Linked DNA regions of Homo sapiens: regions 1, 3 and 4 are each linked to region 2. Evidence: promoter capture Hi-C in 16 types of primary human blood cells and fetal thymus (Javierre and others, 2016). All regions are on one chromosome and are shown on one strand. Each heading gives the region's core, a stretch centred on a gene start or on the middle of the fragment in contact. The rest is flanking DNA. Distances are from core to core; before and after follow the strand shown.

Evidence for each region. The method cuts DNA at HindIII sites, captures the fragments that hold promoters and counts their contacts. A CHiCAGO score of 5 or more calls a contact.
Region 1: a contact is called between a fragment that was not itself captured here and the fragment with the promoter of CGREF1 in region 2, in 10 of 17 cell types (naive B cells, megakaryocytes, total B cells and 7 more). The highest score is 8.2, in naive B cells.
Region 3: a fragment that was not itself captured here is called in contact with the fragment with the promoter of CGREF1 in region 2 in 1 of 17 cell types (endothelial precursors); the score reaches 5.9 in endothelial precursors.
Region 4: a fragment that was not itself captured here is called in contact with the fragment with the promoter of CGREF1 in region 2 in 4 of 17 cell types (naive B cells, M1 macrophages, endothelial precursors and 1 more); the score reaches 6.5 in naive B cells.

What each region holds. Positions count from the first base shown.
Region 1 is chr2:27,289,369-27,292,524 of GRCh38, reverse strand. The region is part of intron 1 of TRIM54 (tripartite motif containing 54); the gene reads right to left. Among named protein-coding and RNA genes, the nearest start is that of TRIM54, 8.5 kb to the right of the region's middle. The HindIII fragment of the contact is 2,045 bases long and covers 237-2,281 here.
Region 2 is chr2:27,117,461-27,120,379 of GRCh38, reverse strand. It overlaps CGREF1 (cell growth regulator with EF-hand domain 1), which reads left to right and starts at 1,252. Exons shown (of 6, transcript NM_006569.6): 1 at 1,252-1,534. It overlaps LOC124907744 (a long non-coding RNA gene), which reads right to left. Exons shown (of 2, transcript XR_007086252.1): 2 at 2,895-2,919. RefSeq lists enhancers at 1,319-1,819, 1,820-2,320. The HindIII fragment of the contact is 4,689 bases long and covers 1-2,919 here.
Region 3 is chr2:27,321,538-27,324,342 of GRCh38, reverse strand. MPV17 (mitochondrial inner membrane protein MPV17) reads left to right here and starts at 1,246. Exons shown (of 8, transcript NM_002437.5): 1 at 1,246-1,291; 2 at 1,821-1,895. The coding sequence starts at 1,826. RefSeq lists enhancers at 437-1,409, 1,532-1,591, 1,642-1,691, 1,702-1,791, 1,802-1,851. The HindIII fragment of the contact is 4,230 bases long and covers 1-2,805 here.
Region 4 is chr2:27,341,952-27,344,949 of GRCh38, reverse strand. GTF3C2 (general transcription factor IIIC subunit 2) reads left to right here. Exons shown (of 19, transcript NM_001035521.3): 2 at 1,372-1,642; 3 at 1,803-2,124; 4 at 2,717-2,998. The coding sequence starts at 1,396. Among named protein-coding and RNA genes, the nearest start is that of GTF3C2-AS1, 7.9 kb to the right of the region's middle. The HindIII fragment of the contact is 754 bases long and covers 933-1,686 here.

The DNA of each region.
Region 1 (3,156 bases), core at 10-2,509, 170 kb before region 2:
ATCTCTCTCTCTGTCGTCTCAACTTCCTGGGATCGAGGGATCCTCTCACCTCAGCCTCCCAAGTGGCTGGGACTGCAGGTGTGCCACCATGCCCAGCTAATTTTTAAAAAAAGTTTCTGCAGAGATAGGGTCTTGCTAGTTGCCCAGGCTGATGTCAAACTCCTGGCCTCAAGCGATCCTCCTACCTCAGCCTCCCAAAGTGCTGGAATTTCAGGGGTGAGACCCCATGCCAAGCTTACAATTTTTAGAAAGAAAAAAGTAATCAGGACTTGGGCTATCTTGGCCAATGTCTTCCTTCAAACTCCCCACAGCCAGAACTGACTTCAGGACTTGACCTGAGGGAGGCACACTAACACCACCTCTTCAACACCCTCCCACCTGCCAAAGCAATTTCTTTAGCAGCTCATCGCATTGGTTAGTCATTGCATTTATTCTGGAGCCCAGAAGGCTAAGAGGCATCAGTACTCAGGCAGTCCAACCCAAGTCCTTTGAAAAGTTCCTGTCTTGGGAGAGAGAAATCGGGAGTGTGTGAGCTCAGGGTGCAGGGCGGTGGGGAGAGGCTGCACCTCTGCTTTCCCACCGTCTTGCTCAGGGCTGGTGCTGCTCCCTGCTGCTGACACCACAGTCCCGTATTTTGCGTGTAGCTTTCATCCCCCAGTCCCAGAGTCCCCTCCTGATTCACAAGTCCAATTTCTCCTGCCATATCTCCGTCGGGCCTGGCTGGCTTTCATCTTAATCTCCAGGGCAGCCCTTCCCTTCTGTGATTGCTTCAGCAATGCTAGCCCCCAGCCAAATCCTAACCCCACTTCCTTTGCTAGTCTTTCTGGCCAATATTTACATACATGTGCTTTTTGGCATTAAGACTACATTTGACTTGTAATAAAATAGTAAAATTTATCCTTCAGACTTTCCAGGGCCTCTGGCTCATATTGCTTAGACGCCCTCATTGTGTTTCCCAAAATATGGTATAATACTGATGACAAGCATGAAGATTGGAGGTGGTATGGGGATGGATGTTCAAGATTTTTTATGTGTTAATTCTAATGCATATTAGGAAAAAAACAGTCCACAAAAAACTGACAATTTTTCATGGATTACATTGTATAGAATAAGGATAAAGTAAATATTTAAGGTTTAAAAGTCATTTTTTGTTTGTTTGTTTTTGTTTTGCGACAGGGTTTCACTCCTGTAGCCCAGGCTAGAATGCAGTGGCACGATCTCGGCTCACTGCAACCTCTGCTTCCCGGGCTCAAGTGATTCTCCAGCCTCAGCCTCCTGAGTAGCTGGGACTATAGGCGTTCACCACCATGCCCAGCTAATTTCTTTATATTTTAGTAGAGACAGGGTTTCACCATGTTGGCCAGGCTGCTCTCAAACTCCTGAACTCAAGTGATCTGCCTACCTTGGCCTCCCAAAGTTCTGGGATTATAGGTGTGAGCCAGTGCACCTAGCCTAAAAGTGAGTGTTTTAAAATAGAACTATTAAATTATAGTACAGGTAGTACACAGCTATGGCAAAAATCAGGAAGGTGAAATAAGAATGAAATTTGCTAACCATTTCCTGACTTTCTCTACCAAAATTTGTCTGACTTGTGTTCCAAACCTTTTGCAAATGTTGAGTGGCTACTTTGAGAAAGTCTTCTATACTGGCTATATGGGTCAAATTGTTGCCCCTTATAGGTAACATCTCTGGTTTTTAACAGAAGCATTTAATGGAGCACAATATAGGGGAAGCAGCACAAAACCACAGCAGTTTTAGCAGCCCGTGACTTTGTCACCAACGGAAATCACAGCTGTTTTCATATCGCATTACAGTTGTTGCTAAAATTTCAAAAAATAATGTATGCTTATCATTACTTCTTTATTTATTTATTTATTTTTAGATGGAGTCTTGCTCTGTCACCCAGGCTAGGATGCAGTGGCACAATCTCGGCTCACTGCAACTTCTACCTCCTGGGTTCAAGCGATTCTCTTGCCTCAGCTAGGCGCCCGCCACCATGCCCGGCTAATTTTTTGATTTTTAGTAGAGACGGGGTTTCACCGTGTTAGCCAGGATGGTCTCCATCTCCTGACCTCGTGATCTGCCCGCCTCTCCCTCCCATAGTGCTGGGATTACAGGCATGAGCCACTGGGCCCGGCTGCTTATCACTACTTCTAAATTACAGCAGTTCAGACTCACTGCTAGACCTCATTCTTTAATGTGTTAGTTAAGAAGCACATGTATTACTCCATCAAATGTGCTTTAAATATTTTGGTGATTATATTCCAGTGTTTCCAAAGCTTTCTTCATTATTGTCCCCTCTGGGAGACTTTTTAATTAAAAAAATTTTTTTTAAGAGATAGTGTCTCTTAAAAAGATAGCACGGTGGCTCACACCTGTAATTCTAGAACTTTGGAAGGCCGAGGTGGGTGGATCACTTGAGGTCAGGAGTTTGAGACCAGCCTGGCCAACATGATGAGACCCTGTCTCTACTAAAAATACAAAAATTAGCCAGGCATGGTAGCTTGCACCTGTAATCCCAGCTACTCGGGAAGCTGAGGCATGAGAATCACTTGAACCTGGGAGGTGGAGGTTGCAGTGAGCCGAAATCAAGCCACCGCACTCCAGCCTGGGCTACTGAGCGAGACTCTGTCTCAAAAAAAAAAAAAAAAAAAAAAAAAAAAAGAGAAAGAGAGAGATAGTGTCTCACTATGTTGCTCAGGCTGGCCTCAAACTCCTAGGCTCAAGCGATCCTCCTGCTTCAGCCTCCTGAGTACCTGAGACTGCAGGTGTGTGCCACTGCTCAGGATCCTTTTTAGACATTTCCCCCAATAGCTCCCATCCCCCTCATTAAATATTAATATCATAGATGTATCTGTTTATGTACCGCATGCTTATCTATCCTTTACACATAAAAAGAGTAAAATCTGGCCATGTGCAGTGGCTCATGCCTGTAATCCCAGCACTCTGGGAGGCCGAGGCGGGCAGATCACCAGAGGTCAGGAGTTTTGAGACCAGCCTGACCAACATGGAGAAACCCTGTCTCTACTAAAAATACAAAATTAGCCAGGTGTGGTGGCATGTGTCTGTAATCCCAGCGACTTGGGAGGCTGAGGCAGGAGAATTGCTTGAACCCGGGAGGCAGAGGTTGTGGTGAGCTGAGATCACGCCATTGCA
Region 2 (2,919 bases), core at 3-2,502:
CCCACCCTACTCCAGTATGACCTCATCTTAATGGATTACATCTGCAATGACCCTATTTCCAAATAAGGTCACAGTCTGAGGTATTGGAGGTTAAGACTTCAACATATAACTTTGTGAAGGACACGAGTCAATGCATAACAGTGATGGGAGCTAGGTGAGCAGATGAGCACATGAGCAGATGGAAAGTGAGGAGAGGGCCCTGAGGAACTCTGACGGTGAAGAAAATGGAGACCTTTTTGAAATGACCAGAGGTAGGAGAGGTATTGCCGAAACCAGCAGAATCCGTGATCTAAAAAGGCAGTGACAAGCAGTGTTCATCACTGGGAGGAGGACAGGATGAGAGTGGGCTTGTCGCTGTGATGACAGTGTCGCTGTGATGGAGTGTCACAAACAACTCAGGAAGAGTTCACCCTGACACCCCAATACATATGCCTCTAACACTCTGCACCGCCACACCCCTGGGCAGTCAGTCACACATTGGCCATACCCTGAAGCCCACACTATCATTTATTTTTTATTTATTTATTTATTTATTGAGACGGAGTCTCAGTCTTGCTTTGTCACCCAGGCTGGAGTGCAGTGGCGTGATCTCGGCTCACTGCAAGCTCCACCACCCAGGTTCATGCCATCCTCCTGCCTCAGCCTCCCGAGTAGCTGACACTACAGGCGCCCGTCACCATGCCCGGCTAATGTTTTTGTATTTTCAGTAGAGACGGGGTTTCACTGTGTTAACCAGGATGGTCTCCATCTCCTGACCTCGTGATCCACCCGCCTTGGCCTCCCAAAGTGGTGGGATTACAGGTGTGAGCCACCACGCCCGGCCCCTGAAGCCCACACTATCACACGGATGCACAGTCACACAAAATACCCCCTACCGTGTCACAAATTCCTCATACACAGAGCCACACATGCCAGTCACAACCGCACATGCTAACAGTAAGTTAGGTTCCATTTTGTCACATACATCTGGGTCCCTCAGGCAGAGAAAGTGGCAACCAAAGCATGAGCACAGTTAAACATACTTCTGATGCACACTGGCCTCACTGTCTCTTGGTCTCTCTGTACTCACATGTGTGCATACAGGCACACGCACACATCCGCGCACACATGCACGCTCACACACGTGCATCCTTACACATGCTCACACTCACGCTCACAATGTCACACGCATGTGCACACCCGCACAAGCACACGAGCGCACTCACGAGCACACGCGGACTCGCACACGCGCACATGCGCACTCACGCACGCACACACGCGCACACTCACACGGGCGCGCGCAGCCCCTCCGGCCGCGGGCGCAGCGGGGGCGCTGGTGGAGCTGCGAAGGGCCAGGTCCGGCGGGCGGGGCGGCGGCTGGCACTGGCTCCGGACTCTGCCCGGCCAGGGCGGCGGCTCCAGCCGGGAGGGCGACGTGGAGCGGCCACGTGGAGCGGCCCGGGGGAGGCTGGCGGCGGGAGGCGAGGCGCGGGCGGCGCAGCAGCCAGGAGCGCCCACGGAGCTGGACCCCCAGAGCCGCGCGGCGCCGCAGCAGGTGGGTGACACCCCGCCCCGGCCGGCCGGAGACCCGAGCCCATCGCCGTCAGCCAGCCAGGGCCGCGCGGGGTAGGTGGCCTCCAGCCTCTGGTCCAGATCCCGAGAGCGCAGTCCCTCTGCATCCCCTGCGGCTCAGACGCGGCGGGAGCAGTGGCCCTTGCCCCTGTGTACCCTGAGGGCAGGTGGAGGAAGGGACTGGAGAGCGAGCCTGAGGCTCCTTGGTGTGAATTTGGGGCTTCGCAGTTCCCCAGGCGCTTCCCCCAGCCCCGCATTCCGTGTTCCAGCAGTCCTGGGGGAGGGGCAGCTGGCGGGAGCTTTCCCCCTCATCCGACGGGGAAGAAATGGAGCGCTGGGGAGGGCCCGAGGCTGTCGTCCGCTTGCAGGTGGCCGAGGGACCAGCTCCCGGGTGTGGGCTCCTCTAGCCCTGTAGCCGCTGTCTCCTTTCTTGGGGGATGGGTGCTGGGAGGCACAAGGGCACCAGAGGGATAAATTAAGAATTAAGGGAGAGGATTCTACTCAAAATTTTAGCTTCCCAACAGTTCGACTCTACAGGAGATGGAACTGCCGGCCTGTGAGGTGCTAGGTTCCTGTCCTGGAATGATTCAAGCAGAGGCCATTTGACAGGGTTGCTGAGGAAGAAATTTTTGCTTTGGATGGGAAGTTACCCAGGATAACCCTGCAAGGCCCCTGCCACAGCCCAGAGGCTCTGAAATACCCAAGCAGCACCTGCTTGGTGCCAGGCACCTACCCTAAGTTTTCTCATTGCAGCCTCCCCAAACCTTTAGGAGACAGATACCGTTATCCTCATTTTTAAAATGCAGATCCCGACCAGGAGCAGTGGCTCACGCCTGTAATCCCAGCACTTTGGGAGGCCGAGACGGGCGGAACACGAAGTCAGGAAATCGATACCATCCTGGTTAACACGGTGAAACCCCGTCTCTGCTAAAAATACAAAAAAAATTTAGCCAGGCGTGGTGGCAGGCGCCTGTAGTCCCAGATACTCGGGAGGCTGAGGCAGGAGAATGGAGAATGGCGTGAACCCGGGAGGCGGAGCTTGCTGTGAGCCGAGATCGTGCCATTGCACTCCAGCCTGGGCGACAGAGCGAGACTCCGCCTCAAAAAAAAAAAAAAAAAAAAATTCAGATCCCAGGGCTCAGAGAGGTTAAGACACCTGCCTAGGTCCCACAGTGAGTAGTATCAGAGGCAGGATTTGATCAGAAGTCTAACCTGTAGAGCGTGCTCTCCTCCCATGCACTGGTGCAAAGGCTTGAAGAACACTGGGGCCGGAGGGTCATTGTGAATGTGTGAGTGCACGTGTGTGACATAACTTTATTAAATTACATGGCAACTGTTAACAGTTATGGTGGCTTTCATGTGTTTATT
Region 3 (2,805 bases), core at 304-2,803, 200 kb before region 2:
TGCTGGGGATTTGAACTCAGTCTAACTTCAGAATATAACTTTACAGCCTACCACATTTGGTCTCCTATTACATTTACTTTTGTCAGTTCACTCCTCTAGCATGCTGTTTTGCAAATAGCATTTTAGTTAAATGTTTGTGACATTGACTTCTCTTGCTTCCTTACTCTGTTTCTCCAGGATTTGTGGCAGGAGTCTCCCTGCCTTAATCATAAAGGAATTGAGTAAATTGGGGGTGGAGCTGGGCAGGTGGAGAGCCTGAAAGAGTGTGCCTCCTGACGTGTGGGCTCCCTGGAGATAAGTAAAGCCTGCCAGCCTGACAAGTCCATTGCCAGGGATATTGTAGACATTTCCAACGCTCTAGAAAGGATATTGCTCTATATTCACAGACTCTTAGAATGTTAGAGCTGGAAGGGGATTAAGAAATCACCTAGCTTACTGGTTTTCAAACATGCAGTTGTGGGCCCCGTTAAAAATGGGTCTTTTGAGAAGTATATACTTGGAAAAAAAAGTTGGAGAAGCAGCTGTAGTAATGCTGCCCCTCTCATCCCCACACACAAACATCTGAAAAATCCCTAGAACTGAGGAGCCGAGTTTGGAAAGTCAATAGTGTAACCTCCCTCATTTTACAGATGCAGAGCCTTAACATCAAGTCTAGTCATGACCAAGGCTGCACAGCCCGTTAGTTTGGGAGCCAATACCTAATGTCTTCTGAGGTTCTAATTCCAATGCTTTCTGTGGAAGAATCATACATACGCAGTATTTCTTAAGTGGCTGTTTGCGGCAAAGCACTGAAATAGTTGCTATGAGGACGACAAATATGAACGACCCCAGTTTTACCCACTCATGAGCTCACAGTTGAGGCCAGTGAAGAACCTAGAGACAAAACACGCACTTAACTATAACTTATAGTTCCCTAACTACGATTGCTGAGACAAGGATCGTAGTTATGGCCAGTTATGCGGGGAGGGTGGGCTGAACAATGAGACTACCGGATTGAGAGAGGCCCGGGTCTCGCGCGGAGAGAAGGGGCAGGAGGAGGCAGAGGGTCGAACTTAGGTGAGAAATATGGCTGGCGGGCCCCACACCAGGGTCCGGCACAGTCCAGCTGGAAAAGGGGTCTCTCACAGAGTGGGTGGCCGAGTTAGGCCGCTCTCCACGGGTATTCATGGCTCGGTCCACCCCCATTCCTGTCCTGGCTGCGTAATCCGAAGGACGCTGGGAGGAAGGGGCGGGACTTGTGGCGGAAGTTCCTAGGCCAGCCTGTCACGTGGGAGGGAGGCTCGGCGCTCAGGTGAGTGGCGGGTGATCTGCGGTCTCTGGCTTAAAGCGTCGCAAGCCATGAGTGCCCACAAGGTGTGTGGTCATCCTATATCCGGGCAGTGACGGGCCCTATTTTCGGTTTGGAGCTGGACTCAGGAAGGTTACAAACTGGTTCCAACCAAGTCTGAATCTGGAGACGGACCAAGCTATCTTTTGAGGCACCCAAGCTCTGGGTAGAAGCCAGAGCAAAGCTGTCCTCATGAGTGTCTCCGTCGGGAACGGAGGCTTCCAGGTGGTCTGGCTTCAGGAATGAGGTTGGGGTGGCTGGTGGCTGCTACCAGGAGTCCATAGCTTCCCACAGCCTTTCTCTCTTCCCCAATTGTCTAAGGCGACTCCTGCGACAGGAAGCTGTCTGGGAAGCATCCTTCATGTGGCCTCTGCCCCTTTAAGTCACATTGGAAGTGGGAAGGGGAAGGGAGTGGGCACAAGGGAATGTCAGGCGGCTTCTTAGTCGTGGAGAGGGACGGTGGGGGTGACCCCCTCTCCTCTTGGCTTGACAGGAAGCATGGCACTCTGGCGGGCATACCAGCGGGCCCTGGCCGCTCACCCGTGGAAAGTACAGGTCCTGACAGCTGGTGAGTGTCCCTCTAGGACTTGAGTGGGACCAGGGCAGACTGATTTGGAAGCCAGAGGCTTGCCCCACTGCACCACCCTCACTTCCTGTTTCTATTCGGCTCTCTTGAAGGGTTGGCTGTCTTTCATCCTACACTGTCCCCAGTCTGTTTTGGAGGGTGGTCCCCAAGGCTGTTTTTAAGGGGTATGCGTAGTTGGCCAAGCTGTGCAGTAGGGTTTTAGGATTTCAAAGTCCTCAAAAAGCTGAACAGTCAGCCCTGAAGGATAAAGGCATTGCCCCAGGAGGCCTCAACTTGGAAAACATTTTACCGTATGCAAAGCACTTTCATATACGTTATGGCATAGGGCCCCCACAAAGGTGTGTGAGCTAGGAGGGTTACTTGAGTCCACATTAGATCACACCTAATAAGTGCTGAATCAAGACTCTTACCCCAGTTTTTCTTGGTATTTTTTATTGTGAAACATACAAAAGAATGATTAAGATGTGTATGTACAGTTTAAATGGCATTAAAACTGAACACTCCTGTGTCAGTAATCAGCTTTGAGACCTCTTGAGTGCCTCTCCGTAATTCACCCAAAATTTCCTGAGTTTTGTTTATATCGTTCATTTGCTTTTGTTATCATTTACTGCCTAAATATGTATCTCCAAGGTTAGTATATTGGTATCTGATCACTCCATCCTGATCCATTTGGAGTGATCAGATACCAGTCACTCCAAATGCAGTGATTGAGTACTAACCTCACAGAGGTAATGCAGTGACCTACCTGCATTTGTTACCATCTTCATTTTGCAAGTTAGCTAATGTAAGAGGATGGCATGAAGATAAGTAAGTCTTAGAGGGGGAATGTCAGAAGGCCTTAGAACATTGGGGTGCAAAGAGTGATCACATTAAGATGAGGTCTTGCCCATGT
Region 4 (2,998 bases), core at 60-2,559, 220 kb before region 2:
ATGGTAACACCATCATAGCTCACTGTAACCTCGAACTCCTAGGCTCAAGCAATCCTCCTGTCTCAGCCTTCCAAGTAGCTGGGACTACAGGTGCGCACCACCATGCCCGGCTAACTTTTAAAATTTTTTGTAGAGATGAGGTCTCCCTATGTTGCCCAGACTGGTCTTGAACTCCTGGCCTCAAGCAGTCCTTCTTCCTTGGCCTCTCAAAGTGTTGGAATTACAGGCATGAGCCATCCTGCCTGGCCTTTTACTTATTCTTAAATAAACTTATTCCTTGACTAATCTTTACAGAAAGAGATGTTAACATTAAGTATGCCTCTTCACTTTGGTCTAAATTTTGTAGTATCTGGCAGCTCTTTTTTGTAGTATATTTTGAGGAAGTTGGTGTCCCTTTCCTAGATTCATGCTAGACAAATTTTTCTCTCTCTTCTTTTTTGGAGTGTGTGTATGTCTGTGTGTGTGTGTTTTATTTCATTGGGTTTCAGAGACAGAGGTTAAATAATTGTGCATTCACTGCTTCATCCTTACAAGAAAATATATGAGCTTTAAATTAGATAATGTATGTATAGCACTTAGTATAGTGCTTGGCACATAGTTAGCATTTAATAAATGGAAGCTTTATGGCCAGGCGCAGTGACTCATTATCTGTAATCCCAGCACTTTGGGAGGTTGAGGCGGGTGGATCACCTGAAGTCAGGAGTTTGAGACCAGCCTGGCCCACATGGTGAAACCTCATCTCTATTAAAAATACAAAAATTAGCTGGGCGTGGTGGTGCGCACCTTGATCCCAGCTACTCAGGAGGCTGAGGCAGGAGAATTGCTTGAACCCAGGAGGTGGAGGTTGTAGTGAGCTGAGATTGCCCCATTACACTCCAGCCTGGGCAACGAGAGTGAAACTCCGTCTTTAAAAAAAAAAAAAAATGGAAGCTTTATTTGTTTACTTGTTTATTGTCTGCTTCACCAAAATGTAAGTTCCATGAGGGCAGGGACCTTGTCTGTCTTGTTTATTGTCATATCACCAGTTTCCTTTTTTGTTTTTAATTTTTTTATTTTATTTTATTTTGCTAGAGAAGGGGTCTTGCTGTGTTGCCCAGGCTAGCCTCAAACTCCTAAGCTCAAGCTGCCTTCCTGCCTCAGCCTCCCTAAGTGCTGGGATTACAGGTGTGAGCCACCGCACCTGGCTCATATTACCAGTTTCCAGAACAGTCCTGACATATAGAAGGTGCTTAGTAAATATTGTTGAATAAGTGAATAATCAGGGAACTTGGTTATGAGTGTGAGAATGAGGGAGAAAAGATGGGGAAATAAAAATCTGAGCTAGTACAAATAGTTTTTGTCCTCTACTCATTTGTGTGTCTCTGTATGCAGGGGCAGCCATTTTGGGGGGTGCTGATGGATACCTGCGGGGTCGGCTATGTTGCCCTGGGGGAGGCCGGCCCCGTGGGGAACATGACTGTGGTAGACTCTCCTGGACAAGAGGTGCTAAATCAGCTTGATGTCAAGACCTCTTCAGAAATGACCAGTGCAGAGGCTTCCGTAGAGATGTCATTACCTACCCCTTTGCCTGGATTTGAGGATTCTCCTGATCAGAGGAGGCTCCCTCCAGAGCAGGAAAGCCTCTCCAGACTGGAACAGCCAGGTATGTACCTTGTCCTCTTATCTTTTTATTCCCCATGCCAAGCTTAAGATGAAAGAGCAGATTGAGCTCATAGGATCTTACAAACCTGGGTACAGTGTAATCTTTTCCATAGAGGTTTGAGTTCTGGTCCCATCTCACAGACCCATATTCTTCTCCACAGATCTTTCTTCAGAGATGTCAAAGGTCTCAAAGCCTAGGGCCTCAAAGCCTGGCCGGAAGAGAGGTGGTAGGACACGAAAAGGCCCCAAAAGGCCCCAACAGCCTAATCCTCCATCAGCCCCACTGGTTCCTGGTCTCTTAGATCAATCCAACCCTCTGTCCACCCCCATGCCTAAGAAACGAGGTCGAAAGTCCAAGGCAGAGCTGCTGCTGCTGAAGTTGTCAAAAGACCTAGATCGGCCAGAATCTCAATCTCCAAAGAGGCCCCCTGAGGACTTTGAGACCCCTTCTGGGGAACGACCCCGCCGAAGGGCTGCCCAAGTGTAAGGATTGTGGGGCATAGCTTGGTGGAGGGGGGTTGGGTGAAGGGATCAGGGTGGGGCAGATGTTGGAGAGAGAAGACTGATGAGGTATTAGGTAAGCAGGGGTGGTGTCTGGATTCTAGGGACTTGAGCAGTCCTTTAGGCTCTTACCGCAGCACTATTAATGGTATGTATTGCTAACTTGGTTTATCTAAGAATTATTGTCTGTACTTTATGTCCTATGCCATTTTTCACAAACTTTACCCAGCTCTTTATTGTTTTACTGTCCAGTATATGTCAGTATATATATTCTGTTCCATTCTTTCTCTTGCCCTCTGTGTTCTTTGACTGTGGTAGGATGAAAAATGTATTGAACTTGGAGTGAGAAGACCTGGGTTCAGATTCCACATTTGTTATCTCAGTCATCTCGGCCAAGTCACATAACTTAGATTTCTGGTTTTTCATCTTCCAAGGGGGAAGGGGAAATTAATAGAGTTAATTGGTTAATCATGGGGTTATTGGGAGGCTCCATTGAGATAAAAATCAACCATGTCTGGAAACGTGGGTTCTCAGTCATATGTGAGAATGGCTCTGACTCTGTCCGTTCCCACAGGGCACTTCTGTATCTTCAGGAACTGGCTGAAGAGCTCTCAACAGCCCTGCCTGCCCCTGTGTCCTGTCCTGAGGGCCCCAAGGTGAGCAGCCCCACCAAACCGAAGAAGATCCGGCAGCCAGCAGCCTGTCCAGGTGGAGAAGAGGTGGATGGTGCTCCACGGGATGAAGACTTTTTTCTCCAGGTTGAGGCTGAAGATGTGGAAGAAAGTGAGGGCCCAAGTGAGAGCTCATCTGAACCTGAGCCTGTAGTGCCCCGAAGCACCCCACGAGGATCTACTTC